Regions from separate parts of the Homo sapiens genome. Here region 1 is linked to region 2. Evidence: promoter capture Hi-C in human tissues and cell types (Jung and others, 2019). All regions are on one chromosome and are shown on one strand. Each heading gives the region's core, a stretch centred on a gene start or on the middle of the fragment in contact. The rest is flanking DNA. Distances are from core to core; before and after follow the strand shown. Region 1 overlaps LUZP2 (leucine zipper protein 2). Region 2 holds the start of LUZP2 (leucine zipper protein 2).

The links. Contacts are between HindIII fragments. The study calls those that stand out against the background at their distance.
Region 1: a fragment that was not itself captured here is called in contact with the fragment with the promoter of LUZP2 in region 2 in 2 of the 25 tissues and cell types used here (IMR-90 fibroblasts and adrenal gland).

What each region holds. Positions count from the first base shown.
Region 1 is chr11:24,667,298-24,670,660 of GRCh38, reverse strand. The region is part of intron 1 of LUZP2 (leucine zipper protein 2); the gene reads right to left. Among named protein-coding and RNA genes, the nearest start is that of LUZP2, 170 kb to the right of the region's middle. The HindIII fragment of the contact is 6,331 bases long and covers 1-3,363 here.
Region 2 is chr11:24,494,911-24,498,310 of GRCh38, reverse strand. LUZP2 (leucine zipper protein 2) reads right to left here and starts at 1,258. Exons shown (of 12, transcript NM_001009909.4): 1 at 1,006-1,258. The coding sequence starts at 1,067. The HindIII fragment of the contact is 10,753 bases long and covers 1-3,400 here.

The DNA.
Region 1 (3,363 bases), core at 179-2,678, 170 kb before region 2:
AGTCAAAACTGATTAGAAATTTATCAATACAGATATTTAAAAATCTGTCCCAAGATAAATATGTGTGTGTCTGTGTGTTTTCAAAAAAACAGCCTATTAGAAAGAACTCTAAGGCAGCAATTTGGCAGGTGATATAAATGCAACTAAAAGAATTGCCATTTGATGTGATAAATAAGACAGGTTCAAAACTCACATTCTGAAGTCAACCGGGCCTAAGTTTACATACTTATATAACTAATCTTTAATATTTAACTATTTGAAGCTTTATTTCATCCATAAAATGGGAATGACAACATTCTAGGGTTAACTTGTAGTGGCTGTGACTGTTATTATGACCATAGTCATCCTTACACAAGAAAAGATAAAATAATTGCCATTTAAAAAATTACTTAATGCTAATGAAAATGAAGTGACTTATCTGTGGTCACAGAGCTGTCAATACCAGAGCTGCAACTTGAGTCTTGTTTTCACTCCAAGTTCTGGTGTTGCTTCTATGAACACTATATTTTTAAGTAGAAAATAAGACTATATTAAGCAGCTTATCTAAGGAGCATTAACTAGACTACATTATACTCCTTCAGTGTAAACTTATTACATTGTTTTTACCTGAAGTTATTCATCGGAAATATATTGCCATAGTGAAATATGTTTTAGTTTTTTTTAATTCAGAATGTAGCCAGATAAACATACAATTTATTGTCATCTCTAGATGCCTAGAGTCCTACCATTAGCTATTTGAAGTGACATGTTCATAGCCAAAGATAGTTAAAGGAAATTTGATCATAAAGTAATCAATAGAAATTATATTTCTCCTCTCTTTGCTTCAGGACAGGATTTTTTAAGATTCATGACCTAAGCCAAAAGAATGCACCTTCGAAAAGTCTAGAAAGAGACCAGGTGCCTATTTTGCATCACAGTACAAAAGCACAATTCCTCAAATACCGCACGTGAACATCCTATCAAGAAAACCAATGAAGTTTAGCTACTGAAAGTTTCTATAAATTGTGCCTGCTTTAAATAATCCAAACAATGTGCTCTCTTCTCCTCCACAAATCTAAATATGTTTAAATATCTGAGAGTGACCATTTTCACAGCCCAGAACACAAAGAAGAAAAAAAAAATAGAAAAGATTCATTGGCAGTTTCCTCTAATGGTTTAAAACAATTGTAGCATTAATTGTAATCCCCAAAGGTTAGTTCTATAAAAATGCACAACTAATTTAAAAGCAAATCATTAATACCAATTAGGAAAGCATTCGGCAGGCCCAGACAGAATTTATTTTTTATTCCAGGAATAAGATAGAAAAGTACTGGGTGATAAAGTATGCTTGAGTAACACTGAATACAACTAGGCACAAGAATAATAAATAATTAATTTGGAAGACAAAAAATAATTCATTTGTAGTAAGGAACAAACTGCTCATTTCACTTCTGGATAAACCTGGGAGCACACACATTGCTTTTGCTAATTTTCTAATTTTACTGATGAGAAAGTTAAAGTAAAAAGAACATTTTTCCAATGTCACAAAGGTAGTTACTGTCAGAGCTGGGTCTTTAACTTGGTTCTTTTGATTTCCTTTTTTGGTGTTGCACCTTGCTGCCTGCCTAGTAGCAGGTTAGTAAGATTTTATTTCACTAGGTGCTTAAACCCAAACTTTCTGGTTGAAGGAAAAAGCCGTTTACTGAAAAATATAGAAATTCTAGTGCAAGTTTGACATTTTCTGCAACATTTTCAAACCTATGTTTGGAAAATGGTATGTAATAAACATTTAAATGTCCAGGAAAATCTAGTACTTACTCAGATTTTACTTGGGTAAAGCCACACTTTGATCCTTGCCTCCATTTTCTTCTAATCTACTTTTTGTATATTTCATTTCTTATGAGAGAAGTTGAGTTTCAGGATTAAACTATTTATAAATAATAGAAAGCGAGAGACGTGCAGTGTAACAGACATTTGTTTTATCTATTCCCCTTCTAGGAAAAAAGCATGTTCCTTTGTTTAGGGAAGTCACTCTTGTATGACTCTTTGCCATGTGGAAAGCTGATCATTTGGAGGATTTCATACTTTTGGCCACAATGATTCATTCAGTGATGGATACATGGTCCCAATTTGCTCAGTGTCCCAAAGTTTTTCAAGTGATAGTGGAGTAAAATGGTATTCTCTTTACAAGGGTTGCTAGTTTCTGAATATATGTTTCTAGACCTTTCAGCATGTCATTTGTCTCCACAGACAGAAAGCCACTTTGAGAATAAAACTATATGGGGAACTATCATACATGAAGAAACATGTATCAAATTCCAAGGACGTTCTTTGACCTCCTGCATCTAGCCATGCCTGAAATCCAGACATTTACCCTGGAATCTTCGATGAAACTCGTAAATTCCCTTTATGCTTCAGTGTTGGAGATTAGTTTGTTTTATTTCCAAACAAAGATTCCAGATAAGTACCAGCATGTGAAACCAGATTAAAGAAGCAAGAAAACCACACTTTTTCTGTAATAATTCAATCAAACTTTCATATGCACTATGCAATCACTTTCACTTTGCACTATGCAATAATGCAATCAAACTTGCACTGTGAACTTTTGAGGACAAGATTTTCTTTCCAGTCTGCTATAGTCTTTATTACAGCACTTACCATCCTGTGGATGATATTAGTTATTGCCAGTTTTACTGCTTTATAGTTCTCATTTCTATAAAAGTGAATTAATAAACTCCAAGAGGAAAATATCTATCATGTGAATTACCCTCATTCTTTCAATGTTTGCATTAGATAATTTATTTCTCTGAAAGGAGTCAGAAGACTTAAGTTTTGGGGGACTTTCATTGCTGAGGGGTCAATTCTGCAAAGGCAATGCAAATAGAAGCATTCTCCAAGCCCTTGCTGAATTCCAAGAGTCCATAAAATTCTGTTTACCCAGATGGTATATTTTATATTTTTGACTAAGCCTATTTATCACTTGCTATATTTGCTCATGTCCTTGGGTTTTTGGGAGTTAAATGCTCTTAGAAATCTGAATTCCAAGTCAGAAATCTCAGGAATAAACATCAGCTCTTTGAATGTACAAACTCTGCTTTCTCCCCACTCAGCTCCCCATTACACAGAGTGCATAGTTTAATCCCTTTAACATATTTGCATTTAAATTGCATATTTAAATCTATACATTTAAGAACATGTGGTGGACGCGGCAGCTCATGCCTGTAATCCCAGCAGTTTGGGAGGCTGAGGACGGCAGATCACGAGGTCAGGAGTTCGAGACCAGCCTGACCAACATGGTGAAACTCTGTCTCTACTACAAATACAAAAAAAATTAGCCAAGCATGGTGGCACATGTCTGTAGTCCCAGCTACTCAAGAAACTGAG
Region 2 (3,400 bases), core at 9-2,508:
TTTATTTGCCATCAGATGCACAATCAAATAATGTTTCTATTCACGTAGACTTGAAAGGATCTTCATCCTGTGTGGGTTATTTTATTTTATAGTAGCCAAGGGAAAGAGGTTGCTGCCAATATGATGCTAAGGGCATGCAGAATAAAGACAGTCCTGGGCAACTAAACAGTCCACCTTTGTGCTGCGCTTGTGGAAGAAAAAAGCAAACCCATCACAACTTTGGGACTTGATCAACAGTGGGGAGTCACAAAACTCTTCTCAATCTCTGCATTTTAAATCTCCACCAAAAATAGCTCCTCTGTAATGGGGCTTAAAGTCCCATCCATGGCCAGTGATGGAGTACAGTACTTAATTGTTTCTGACTAGGGTCTCTGCATCAGCACTCTGAGAGTGTCTTCTAACTTTTAATCGCCTTCTGTGCTCTTTAATTAGACCTGTTCACAAGACAGTCAAAAGAAAACGCCTATCACTAAGCTTATCCAAGACGTTGAAACATGCCATTTCAGGAGTCCAGGAACTTTTGTACAAGTCTTAGCATCTTCCAGGATTAATCTGTTTTCTCTGGTTTCCTCTTCCTTAAATCAGGCACACTTGGGGGAAGGGAGAAGCTCTATGGTTATTAAGACAACTCCAATGTAAAGACACTGCCTGGTGGCAATTCCCTCCTTGCCTATTTCCGTTCTTTATTTTGTTCTTTTACCGCGTGTTACCTTTTGGCTACTAATAGGACCGGAGGGTAAAATGTCTTTTCTCTCCTTCGGAAGAGAAAGCTTTTGATCCCTCACTGAGAGCAATCCTAAGACTTTCTCCAGGGGGCTGGGATAACTAGGAAAGGGCTCTGCTCTCTCAGAAGGATTTCAGAGCCCAAACCATACAGCGTCCCTCTTGCTTAGGCGGGAGATGCAAACAGCTGAAGTGCCTTGGCCCCCACTGGTGACCCACAGTAGGACCAACCTCGCCCCGGCAGCGCCCCTGGCCTCAGGTCACTCACGCTCCTGGACTCACCTGGTGCTGAGGACCAGCGCAGGCAGGAGAGGCAGCAGGTAGTGCGCTGGGCTGAATTTCATGCTGCTGCCTGCCGGGGTCCTCCTTCCCTCGCTGCCTTCTCTCTCTCTCTTCGGGATCCTGTCGCTCCTTGGTGCCCGGCTCTGTCCCCAGCCAGTGATGAGCGCTCTTCCGAGGCGGAAAGGCGGAGACGGGCACACGAACGGACGCCTGGGGAAGGCAGGCGCTGGGAGCGAGGAGTATCTTCAGGAGTGATGTCACCGGCGAGGCGAGCCCTGCCGGGGATTGTTCGGCGCCGCCGCTCCGGAGCCCGGAGGGCGCGCCGTCACTCGCGCTGGAGGCGGCGCGGGGAGAGGGAGGGGGCGCCTCGCGATCGCCCCGTGCGCTTCGGTCACCGGGCTGCGCTCTGGTCAGTCGGGTGAGCACTGGCCAGGGGCGGATCATTTATTCCCGCTGCTCCCCAGGATGGCGCGGGGCGGGGCACGGAGAGTAGAAACCTAATCTGCCGATAATTGAACTTGCGTACTCGGCAGGAGATGAGACCCAATTCACTGGGAGAGACTTCCAGACGCGTAGGGTCCTAGGCAGGTGTCTCTCGCCGCTTAAACCGTGTTTGGAAGAACGTCGCTCTGGAGAGAGTGTTTAGAAGATTGTTCTAATTAGAACTGCATAATGATTTGCCTGAAACAGATGGAAGGAAGCGGGAGTAAGCAGCGTCCAGAAATGCAACCTCAGCCCGTCATGGCATTGCAATCTTCTTAACCCGTGAATGTTGACTGCAAAGAACCAAAGAACGTTTCGGGACCGTTAAGACATCTGCTGCTCTGGGTTTTGAAGATTTCTGATCTTCCTCTGATTTCAGTCGTCTGTACCAGCACCTGCCAATGGGGTTGGACCTGGTGGCTCAAGTTCACACACCTGAAGGAGTCCTTTTCCTCAGGTGAAACTCATCAAGGAGACCTAGCGGACAAAAACCATTAAAATGTTAACAGTAATCAGCTCGGAATGATGGTACTGGAAGGTAGAGGTTTTGTAGGTCATTTGGTTTTCTATATTTTCAAATGTTCTATCATAAGCATCCAATATTTAATAGGCTCTATTTAGAAATTTTAATTAGAAAAATTAAATAGCACAATTATAATCCAAAACACCATTTTGCAAAAGCAATTCTGAGAAACAGAACTACTATCTCTGCTACTGAGATATTCAATTCTAGGATATTTATAAGATGATATTGCATGTGTGTGTGTGTGTGTGTGTGTGTGTGTGTGTGTGTGAGTGAGAGTGAGAGAGAGAGAGAGAGAGAGAATGAGAATTCCATCTGGATATTATCCTGGTTATATAACTGTGTATAAGGCACTTCTTCATACAGTATTTAATTTAATCTTCACAAGAGCCATCCTAGTGAAATAGACGTTAATATCACTATTATAGATATGAGCAGACTGAATATCATCAAAATCTGACTATGCATATTAAAAAAAAGAACTGGTTCTACTAAGTCCTAAGAAAAATTCCACTGTTGCCTCAAACATCACAACTAGCACTCCTAGCCCAGTGTTTGACACAAAGTTGTGTTCAGTAAAGGGTGAGGTGCACCAAAGTCCCGAAAGATAATGGACAGCTGTGTCCAGGAATTCCTATCTAGAGGTTTCAGTTCATGTTCCAATTATTTCGGGGGCAAGCTCTTTACAGAAAAATTTAGATGATACATCCTCTTCAATCTCATTTTCGAAGACATTTGTAGGAAAAATGCATTTGCTGTAAAGCTTTATTTTAAAGAGGATGCAAATCTAAAAGGTTAACCATCTAATTTACTATTTTTTTTAAATGGGATTGAAGGTTAAGACATGTATGTAAAACAGATTTGCTTCAAAATCTTGAGCTGCTGAACTAGATGAGTAATAAGTTTTGAAAAGTGAATATTAGCCCCTTGGGCAATAATAATAAGATCCACAACATTATCGATCTTGTATATGCCTAATAAGTAGGCATATACAAATAAACTAACATGTGAATTGCATATCATTTAAGAGAAAAAAACGACACCACACTTTTCTAAAACAGAACTCTGATTCCAAGTAAAATAAAAACTCTGGTTTGCTCCTGCCAGGGTTTTCTAACATAGATTCCCTGCTCACTTTGAAGGAGATTACTTGAGTTGTATACTCAACAAAGACATAAGGCTACTTGGCAATTTTTTTAATGTGTGCACCAGGAAATAACACTCATATTTGTAGAATACATTTTTTATATAACAACTTTGCATCCATTATCTTACGTCCTAATCATAGAAACCAAATGTGGTAGTTATTTCTAGTATTTTTCTCTTTTCCAGTTAAGGTGACAGTTTCAGAGTAGTTAAGTAACTTGCTCAAGGTCACTCAGAGACTTA